Regions from separate parts of the Homo sapiens genome. Here all the other regions are linked to region 2. The links are contacts of gene promoters, found by promoter capture Hi-C in human tissues and cell types (Jung and others, 2019). All regions are on one chromosome and are shown on one strand. Each heading gives the region's core, a stretch centred on a gene start or on the middle of the fragment in contact. The rest is flanking DNA. Distances are from core to core; before and after follow the strand shown.

Region 1 (3,518 bases), core at 424-2,923, 140 kb after region 2:
ACAGGAGGACTCCAAAGAAAGAACTTGAAAAAAGTCAGAAAAGATGAATAGACAACTAGATGGCTAGAACAGATCAGAGTAAATGCTGAAGAGACTTAAATGTCAGCATGAGGAAGCACCACCTCTTGATGGAGGTTTGCCATCAAGAGACTAAGCTGAGAGTGAGATGAAATGAAATGGGGAGAGAACAGCTGGCTGCTTACAACCAGAAAGTTAAGTGGCTAGAGTAAATTAAACCCCCTAAGTCTTTAACATATGCTGCCACTATGCCCCCTGCCTCATTTTCTATATTGGTTATAGGTGGTTTTCTTAAAGCCAGTGATATGACTAACTTATTACTCTATCTATCTATCTATCTATCTATCTATCTATCTATCTACCTATCTATCTGTCTATACTTTTTTCATCCATCCTGATTAAACTTCACTGGATTCAGTCCATCAATCTCAGCCTACTAAGATTATTTTTAGATACCGATTCTGCCACAGGATTTAACTATGCTTTCTAGTTTTATTTCATTTTCAATTTTCAAAAATGCCTTTTACTGTCTTGTCATAAAAGTAACATAACATTGTTACATACATATGCAAAAATAAAAATTTAATAACCCATAATACCACCACCCAGAAACAGACCACTATTAACAGGCAATACATTAAGCTTGAGGGGTTTTCCTTTACTTTTCTTTTCTTTTTTTTTAGAGACGGAGTCTCCCTCTGTCACCAGGCTGGAGTGCAGTGGCGCAATCTGCGCTCACTGCAACCTCCCCCTCCCAGGTTCAAGAGACTCTCCTGCCTCAGCCTCCTAAGTAGCTGGGATTACAGGCGCCCGCCACCATGCCTGGCTAATTTTTTGTATTTTTAGTAGAGACGGGGGTTTCACCATGTTGGCCAGGATGGTCTCGATCTCTTGACCTCGTGATCTGCTCACCTCGGGCTCCCAAAGTGCTGGAATTACAGGCATGAGCCACCATGCCGGCCGCTTGAGGGTTTTTTTAAATGCCTAAACCGAACATTTTAATAGAATCATGCTATAACGTCTTTCCATTTATTGTAAAGTTTTCTTCAATGTCAGTGTTTTTATGGCTGCACAACTTTGTGTGGATACAATTTATTACCCAATTATTTATTTATGGACATAATGTCTTCTAACTTTGCAGTATTATATATAAAATATTAAGATGAACACCCCTCTAACACTAAAATGAGCACCCCTTATCTAACTTTTCCCATGTATCCATGACAATTTTCTTATAATAATGTCCTATAAATGGAATTGCTGGGTGGATAATTTTTAAGGCTTTACACAGTGTCAAATTCTGCTCCGGAAAATTTGTTCCAATGTACATTCCTATTATTGGTGTTACAGGGTGACAGACTGAGGAGCTGTAACAATTATTAGATATTATAATTTTAATATAACTTGTGAGGATCAGCTTAATAGAAGAAATACTTTGTTTATTCAATTTACATTCTTTTAATCACTGTTGCAGTTCAAGAAAATTTTTCATATATTCCTTTAATAATCTAAACACCTAATTACTACAGAGTTATCCATAAAAGACACACAGAACAATGGAATCTAACAGAAAGCCAAGAAATAAATCCTTGTATATGTGGTCAAATGAAAATGATTTTCACCTAGGATGCCAAGACCATTCAAAGGGAAAAAGACAGCATTTTCTTTTCTTTTCTTTTCTTTTTGAGATGGAGTCTCGCTCTGCTGCCCAGGCTGGAGTGCGGTGGTGCCATCTCGGCTCAATGCAACCTCCACCTCCCAGGTTCAAGCGATTCTCCTGTCTCGTTCTCCCAAGTACCTGGGACTACAGGCATGAGCCACCACACCTGGCTAATTTTTGTATTTTTAGTAGAGATGGGGTTTCGCCATATTGGCCAGGCTGGTCTCAAACTCCTGACCTCAAGTAATCCATCCACCTTGGCCTCCCAAAGTGCTGGGATTACAGGCATGAGCCACTGCAGCTGGCCAAAGACAGCCTTTTCATTCAACAATGTTAGGAAAACCAAATATTCACATACAATAGACTGAAGCTGGACCTTACCTTACACCATATACATAAACCAACTTGAAATGGATCAAAGATCTAAACATATGAACTAAAATGATAAAACTTCAGGAGAAAACATAGATAAATAGCTTCATTACATTGGATTTGGCAACTATTTTTTGACTATGATACCAAAAGCACAAGCAACACAAAAATATATAAACTGGACTTCATCAAAATTAAAAACTTCTGTGCATCAAAGGACACTATCAAGAGAGTAAAAAGGAAACCCATAAAATGGGAGAAAATACAGCAAATCTTATATCTGTTGATGGATTAATATCTAAACACATAAAGACCTCCTAAAACTCAACAACACAAAACAAACAAGCCAATTAAAAATTGGGCAGAAGACTTGAAAAGACATTTCTCCAAGGAAGACATACAAATGGCCAATAAGCACATGAAAAGATATGAAACACCACTAATTAGGGAAATCCAAATGAAAACCACAATGAGATACGACTTCGCACCCATTAGGATTGACTATCATGTAAAATAAAAGAGGTCAGACCAAGTGGCTCACACCTGTAATCTCAGCACGTTGGGAAGCCAAGGCAGGTTGATCACTTGTGGTCAGGAGTTCGAGACCAGCCTGGCCAACATGGTGAAACCCTGTCTCTACTGAAAAAAATACAAAAATTAGCTAGGCGTGGTGGCGGGCGCCTATAATCCCAGCCACTCAGGAGGCTGAGGCAGGAGAATCACTTGATTCCAGGAGGCAGAGGTTACAATGAGTCAAGATCATGTGACTGCACTCCAGCCTGGGTGACAAAGCAAGACCCTGTCTCAAAAAAAAGAAAAGAAAAGTAAAGAACAGAAAAAGTGTTAGCAAGGGTGTGGAGAAATAGGAACCCCTGTGCATTGCTGGTAGAAATGTAAAATGCTGCAGTGGTTTGGAAAATGGTATGGTGGTTCCTCCAAAAATTAAACAGAAATACCATATGATCCAACAATTTCATTTCAGTGTACACATCCCAAAGAAGTGACAGCAGATCTTGAAGAGGTATTTGTACACGCGTGTTCACAGCAGCATTATTTACAATAGCCAAAAGGAGGAAGAAATCCAAGTGTTCATGAACAGATGAACAAAAGTGATATATCCATAAAATGGAGTATTATTCAGTCTTAAAGGGGAAGAAAATTCTGACATGATACAACATGATATATCTTGAGGACACTATATTAAGTGAAATATGGCAGTCACAACAAGACAAATACTGTACAATTTCACTTATATGAGGTACCTAAGAGTAGTCAAATTCATAGAGACAGATAGTAGAATGATGGTTGCCAGAAGGTGAAGAAAAAAGGGAATGGGGAGTTAGTATTTAATGGGTACATACTTTCACTTTGGGAAGATGACAAAGTTCTGGAGATGGATGGATGGATGGAGGTAATGGTTGCACAACAATGTGAATGTACTTAATGCCACTAAGTTGTACTCTCAAAA
Region 2 (3,367 bases), core at 528-3,027:
AACTTAAAATTGAATTTGGACATCCCAGTTCTAAAAATCCTTTATAGGTTTACCCCACCCACCCCAAGCAATGCCCACCATCCCTCTCTTACATCCTCCTCCTCTTGCTCTCATCTTCCAACAAACTTCAAATTCTTCTTCACTCTGTTAGGCAGAGCAATTACATTCTCTCAAGCTCTTTCTCCCAAACTCAGCTCCAGGACAACCTTTCAAAATCCAGAGCCCTTTGCTAACCTGCCCAATGGAGTTGGACTTTTCTAGCTTCAACTAGGTTCATCATTTTAGCTGATCTGCCTGTGGCCAGCTTCCCCACATTGGATGCCAACCTAGTAAAACAGTCATCCATAAATCATAAGGAAAGCTAAAATGTATCAAGCACCTACTATGTGCTGGTTCGAGGTTAAATGCCTCGCATGAGTCATCTCATTCAATTTCCACAAAAACCCTTTAAGATAAGGACAATTTGCTGGGCACGGTGGCTCATGCCTGTAATCCCAACACTTTGGGAGGCTGAGGCAGGCAGATCACCTGAAGTCAGGAGTTCAAGAGCAGTCTGGCCAACATGGCGAAACCCCATCTCTACTAAAAATATAAAAATTAGCCAGGCATTGTGGCTCATGCCTGTAATTCCAGCTACTCGAGAGGCTGAGGCAGGGGAATCATTTGAACCCGCGAGGCGAGGTTGCAGTTAGCTGACATCGTGCCACTGCACTCCAGAGCCTTTTAAGACTCTGTCTTAAAAAAAAAATATATATATATATATATATGGACTATTAGTATCCCCATTTTACAGATGAGGAAAATGAGACTTCATAGAGTTTGGGGTGCCTGTGGTCATATCTATAATTGTGAAAAAGTCAGATTCCAAAGCATTTTACCAATATTGCCTAAGTGAGTGGGAGGGAAGGGAAGGCTCTCTGGAGTCGGGCTATGCTGGACAGCGGGGTTCGGAAACTCTGGTGAATAAAGTGGTAGTTGTTTCTATGAACATGGAGTGAGAAGGCCCAATCCTAAACACACCAGTGCTTAAGGCAGCTGCAGAGAATTAAAGGCAATAGAAAAAGGGGAGCTGGATGGCAGGAGCTTGGATGGGGAAGACTTCAAGGGCAGGTGAAGATGCCAACAGCTTCCTGCCTGGAGGACCGAAGAAGGGTTGGGCTTCACTGCAGACCTCCAGGAGACAGATTTGCTTGTTGGGACAGAGTAGGGAGGTGAAAGCGAGGTGAGGAAGTTCGGGGGTGGGGGAGGTGCACACAGCTCCACTAAAGAGCTGGAAGAGGCCGATGGAGTATTCATGAGACGGCTGATCCAGGAAGGACTGTGGCATATTAATATGGAAAAGGCCTGTTTGTTTGTGCTTGGAGAGGAAGGAGCCAGAGGAGAGGGGAGCAAGGTGGGCGGGAGCTGGGGAGAGCCTGCAGCAAGATCTGCAGAGCCCGAGGTGCTCTCGGCCTGGGCCCTGGAGAGGACGTAGGGTAAGTGATGGGGCACAGGCTGTGCGTCAGGGGGAAGGTGCTGGGGCCTGAAGGTCCCGAGGGGAACCTCAGACGGCCTTATGCCTTCTCACAAAGAAACTGGACCATCATCTCCGACCCGCACCCCGGTCGCCCCTCGAGGACAGAGGGTGGGCGCAGGAGGCTGGACCGAGCGGGGCGGAGCTGGATGCCTGGCGCCGGCCTCCCTCCCGGCAACCCCGCCGGTCCTCTCAGGTGACAGCTCACGCCGGCCCCCGCCCCGCCCCCCGCATATTCAGGAGCCCCAGCCCACCCTGCCCGCGAACAGCCAGCGCTGGAGGAGCGCCGGGAGACTCTGCCGTCGGTGCGTGCGCGGACACGCACCCGTCCCCCTTGGTCTCGCCGCCAGCCATGGCCGCCGCTACGGCCTCCCCCCGCAGCCTCCTTGTTCTCCTCCAGGTGGTAGTGCTCGCTCTGGCGCAGATTGTAAGTTTCGCAGCCCCTCCGCTGCCAGGGTCCAGGGTGCGGGGTCTGGAGTCCGGGATGGAGGAGCTCTGCCTGTGTCCCGCGCCTACTGACACCCCTAGCCCGAGAGGCCACCTGAGGACAGCGCCGCGGGCAGGTCCCCTCGGTGGGTGCATACATGGTGCCCATCGCGGCACCGTGAATGGAGGTGGCTGAGCCGGAGAGTCAAACGGGACCCGTCCCCAGACGCGCGGCCCGGCCCGGGACAGGCAGCGTGGGGCAGGAGCTGGCGCCCGGTCCTGGCAGCCCGGGGAGCCCAGGTGGCGGGGCATACAATGGTGCTCATTCACCCGCTGCGCAGCCTCCGCCCCCGCCGCCTCCCAGGGGGCGCCGGCTCCAACCAGACGCCGCTGTCGCCCCGAGGCGGCCTCTCGGCCCTGCCCGCCTACCCACGTCTCCCTTCCGAGGGCCGCCGGGGGCTGCGGGCGCGCGGGTAGGGCAGAGACTGGGCCCGGTCGGGTGCTGGGTGTGGTTTCGAGCTCGCCTGCGGGGCGCCAGCCTGGCACTTCGCGGCCTGGGGAGGTCGTGGGCACCGGGACCCCTGCCTGGGTCCGAGCTGGCCTCTTAAAAGGGCCGCCTTTTAAGATCTCTGATCTGTTCAGAGATGGGCAGCAGGATGGAGACTCTCCAGCTGTGAGCTCGCCTCATCTTGATATGACTTGTGACCTCCCTGAAACCTCACACCCACCCAGGGGCATTGAATTGCAGGCAAACGGGATCCAGAGAGAGGGTCTGCTTTCTGGGAGGTGCCGGCTCCTCCTGCTCCCCTGCAGCAGTCAGGGCTTAGCAGAGGGAGGACCGGGCAGCTGTGCTGCCGAAGGGGCGCTCCGAGTGGGAAGATAGTACCCGCTTCACCTCCCTACACCTCCTTTCTCTGCGCCTCCCCCACTTTCCCGTCGGGTTTTCCCGCACCATGGGGAGAGGAGGAGGCGCTGTCTCTGCCTGTCGTTCACGTAAGAACAACAACCCGAGCCACCGCTCACTGAGGGCCGGCAGCCTGCTAGGCACAACCTTACATTCCATCTGTGATTTATTTGAGCTGTCCACGTCTCCATCTATTCCCCACCGCGACCGCGCAAGGGCAAACTGGCACAGTGGAAGGAGTCGGGCAGATCCAGGGCGGACTCCTGGCGCCGCCGCCCACTCTCAGTGACCATGGACCCTTCACGTTCTGAGCCAGTTTCTTCGACTGCAAACTGGGGCCCGTAATAGCGCCCGCCTCCCGGTTCTGAGTATTCTGTAAGATAATGAATGCATGTAATGGCACACAGTGCCTGCTATACAGAAGATTCTCAATACGTGGGAGTTCGCGGAAGAGCTGCGCCCCTAGGACCCCGCTCCCAGGGTCGCTTGCAGCCCCGGGGACGCCCAGCTTCCTGCACTGTCTG
Region 3 (3,379 bases), core at 408-2,907, 230 kb after region 2:
GATCCACCCACCTCGGCCTCCCAAACTGCTGGGATTACAGACGTGAGCCATGACACCCAGCTCCTGTATGGACTTTTGAAGCTTGTTATTACTTGATAAACAGGAGCTAAGCAAAAAATGTTCTTTCTTCTGTTTTTTAAAATTGAGGTAAAAATTCATGTAAAGTTAACCATTTAAAATGGTACGATTCAGTGGCATTTAGTGTATTTGCAATGTTGTGCAACTAACACTTCTTTTTCAACACCCCAGAAAAACACACATAGCCATTAAGCAATCACTCCCTATTGCCCCCTCCTACTACTTCTTGATAATCTCCAGCTTAGTTTTCTGTATCTCAGTGGATTTGCCTGTTCTTTATTTATCCTATGAAAGGAATCATGCATTATGTGGCTTTTTGAGTCTGGCTTCTTTCACTTAGTATAATGTTTCTGAGGTTCATTCAAGTTGTAACATGTGTCAGCACTTTGTTCCTTTTTTATAACTCAGTAATATTCCATTGTGTGAATATACCACATTTTATTCATTCATTCATTGATGGACTGCTGGATTGTTTCTCCCTTTTGACTATTACAAACACTGCTGCTGTTAACATCTATATGCAAGTTTCTGCATGGACGTGTGTTTTTATTTCTTTGGGGTGTATAACTAGGAGTTGAATTGCTGAGTCATTTAGTAATCGTATGTTTAACTTTTTGAGAAACCACCAAACTGTTTTTCACAGTGGCTGCTTATTACATTCCCACCAGCAATGTCCAAGGGGTCCCATTTTTCTACATCGTTGACAATACTTGTTATTTTCTATTAAAAAATTATTATTAAAGACATCCTAGTCTGTGTGAAATGGTATCTCATCGTGGTTTTGGTTTGCATTTCACATGCCAGTGGTTAGCCATTTGTATATCTTCTTTGGAAAAATATCTGTTTAATTTCTTTTCCCATTTTTAAATTAGGTTATCTTTTTGTTGAGTTGTAAGTGAGTTATAGATTCCTTGTATATTCTGGATATTAAGCCCTTATCAGATAACTGTTTTGCAAATATTTTCTTCCATTCTATACATTGTTTTCACATCCTTGATAATGCTGTTTGAGGCCTCAGAGTTTTTAAACAATAAACAATATTTGGACTCATGAGTTTCCATCATTGTGTTTTGTTGGCTAGGAGACAGCTGTTGCAATCCCTTAAGCATGGGTGCTATTAAAAAAATGGTGGAGAAGAAAATACCTGGAATTTACGTCTTATCTTTAGAGATTGGGAAGACCCTGATGGAGGTAAGGCGCTTCACAGCTGTTCCTTTGAAGGGTTGCTGACTGATTTCATAGCATATACTGTTAAAATGCTTTGCCTTGTGTTTTCAGCAGCAGATCATACAGTGATACTTTCACCCTTGAGTGGCTCATGTGAGGATACCAACCTAAATGAGTTTACCTCTTAGAGAAGATGTCAGTGGTTGTTTTCAGTCCCATCCTCTCACTTCTCTCTGGCTTCTTTTTTAGGACGTGGAGAACAGCTTCTTCTTGAATGTCAATTCCCAAGTAACAACAGTGTGTCAGGCACTTGCTAAGGATCCTAAATTGCAGCAAGGCTACAATGCTATGGGATTCTCCCAGGGAGGCCAATTTCTGTACGTTCCTTTTTGTTATATTGTACCACTTATATGGAATTGATTTTTGTTTCTTTTATTCAGATAAATCCACTCCTCCAATTCAAGATTGTCACCTATCTTGGAAGGGAAATTTCCTAAAATGTTCCTGTGTAAGAAGCTTTATGGAACTTAATTTCTTTTCTTTTTTTTTTTTTTTTGAGACAGAATTTCTCTCTTGTTGCCCAGGCTGGAGTGCAGTGGCGCGATCTCAGCTCACTGCAACCTCCACGTCCCAGGTTCAAGTGATTCTCCTGCCTCAGCCTCCCGAGTAGCTGGGACTATAGGTGCTCACCACCACACCTAGCTAATTTTTTGTATTTTTAGTAGAGATGGGGTTTTACCATGTTGTCTAGGCTGGTCTCGAACTCCTGACCTCAGGTAGTCCACCCACCTCAGCCTCCCAAAGTGCTGAGATTACAGGTGTGAGCCACCATGCCTGGCTGGAGCTTAATTTATTTTCTATGAAAGTTGAAAGAAATATTTGCATTTGCCCATATCAGGAAAATCCTGAAACTCTGCGGGTTTGGGGAGTCACAGAGGATGACTAGCTTAATCTGTGATGCTGATTGTGGATGATACATTTCCATCTGACAGTCGGAGCTAAAACTCCCTTTTATTCCGTAGGAGGGCAGTGGCTCAGAGATGCCCTTCACCTCCCATGATCAATCTGATCTCGGTTGGGGGACAACATCAAGGTAACTTTGCCTCTTTGCTTTCTTTTTTCTGTATTCTAACCCACATGACCACCTGATTTAAAAAAAAATCTAGGAACTATATTTGCACAAGACATCAGCCATTCTTGCAAAATCCTGTTTCTCTAGCTTTTAACAAACTAGCCAGCATTGCTGGAGACATAGGAAGAGACTTAGGATTCCAGAGGCCTGGATCACTAGGTTGGCATCTACTTCTCTCCAATTTCATTGACACGATTGCATGGAAGTAAGATGGTTATAGCCACGTGGCAGGTGGTGGTTGAGGAGTTAGGAAAATTGAGTGACCTTTTCTGTTCTCTGATTTGGTGGTATCCTCTTGAATTTAGGCTTAGGCAAAGAATAGTGTGTAAGCTCTTGTGTCTATAAATTTAAACTCTTTGAGAAACAGCAGGTTTTCTATTTTGACGGAATTCCATACTATTGGGGAAGGATGTGTCATTAGAATGGAATTTCATCTCTGTTGTTGATGGGTATAGCTATTAGCTGGTATAATGTGGGAGCAGAATGATTCTCCGTGTAATCAGGAAACCTGGACTCACCCAATTAACTATTACTCCTAGGCAAGTAATTTGGTATCTTAGGTTCCACTCACAGATGGAAGAAACCAAAATATGGCCCTGCCTGTCCTATGGGAATTTTTCAGAGGATAAAGTGAAATAATAGGTAGGAAAATACTTTTTAAAAGTATAAGGATTATACAAACGTAAGTTGGTAAAAACAGCTTTATTATTCATTCATTTAACAAATATTTATTGAAAACCTATTATATGCCAGGAACAAGACAGACAAGGTTCTTGCATTCATGAAATATATATATATACACACACACATGTGCACATATATGCACATACATACATAGACATATATATACACATATGCACCTATATACACACATACATAGACATATATAGACATATATATACACACATATGCACTTATATACACATATATACACACACACATATATATATATACACGATAAAATGGAGGATAGCTGGGCACATGGTGGTGTACACCTGTAGT

What was found. The method cuts DNA at HindIII sites, captures the fragments that hold promoters and counts their contacts. A contact is called where the count stands out against the background at its distance.
Region 1: a fragment that was not itself captured here is called in contact with the fragment with the promoter of COL9A2 in region 2 in 1 of the 25 tissues and cell types used here (aorta).
Region 3: a contact is called between a fragment that was not itself captured here and the fragment with the promoter of COL9A2 in region 2, in 1 of the 25 tissues and cell types used here (IMR-90 fibroblasts).

The regions. Positions count from the first base shown.
Region 1 is chr1:40,179,615-40,183,132 of GRCh38, reverse strand. The region is part of intron 1 of RLF (RLF zinc finger); the gene reads right to left. Among named protein-coding and RNA genes, the nearest start is that of RLF, 20 kb to the right of the region's middle. The HindIII fragment of the contact is 8,457 bases long and covers 1-3,518 here.
Region 2 is chr1:40,315,696-40,319,062 of GRCh38, reverse strand. It overlaps COL9A2 (collagen type IX alpha 2 chain), which reads left to right and starts at 1,777. Exons shown (of 32, transcript NM_001852.4): 1 at 1,777-1,940. The coding sequence starts at 1,866. RefSeq lists enhancers at 1,646-2,282, 2,283-2,919 and silencers at 2,093-2,602, 3,363-3,367. The HindIII fragment of the contact is 32,999 bases long and covers 1-3,367 here.
Region 3 is chr1:40,090,288-40,093,666 of GRCh38, reverse strand. It overlaps PPT1 (palmitoyl-protein thioesterase 1), which reads left to right. Exons shown (of 9, transcript NM_000310.4): 2 at 1,160-1,269; 3 at 1,495-1,622; 4 at 2,268-2,338. Among named protein-coding and RNA genes, the nearest start is that of PPT1, 5.3 kb to the left of the region's middle. The HindIII fragment of the contact is 4,299 bases long and covers 1-3,379 here.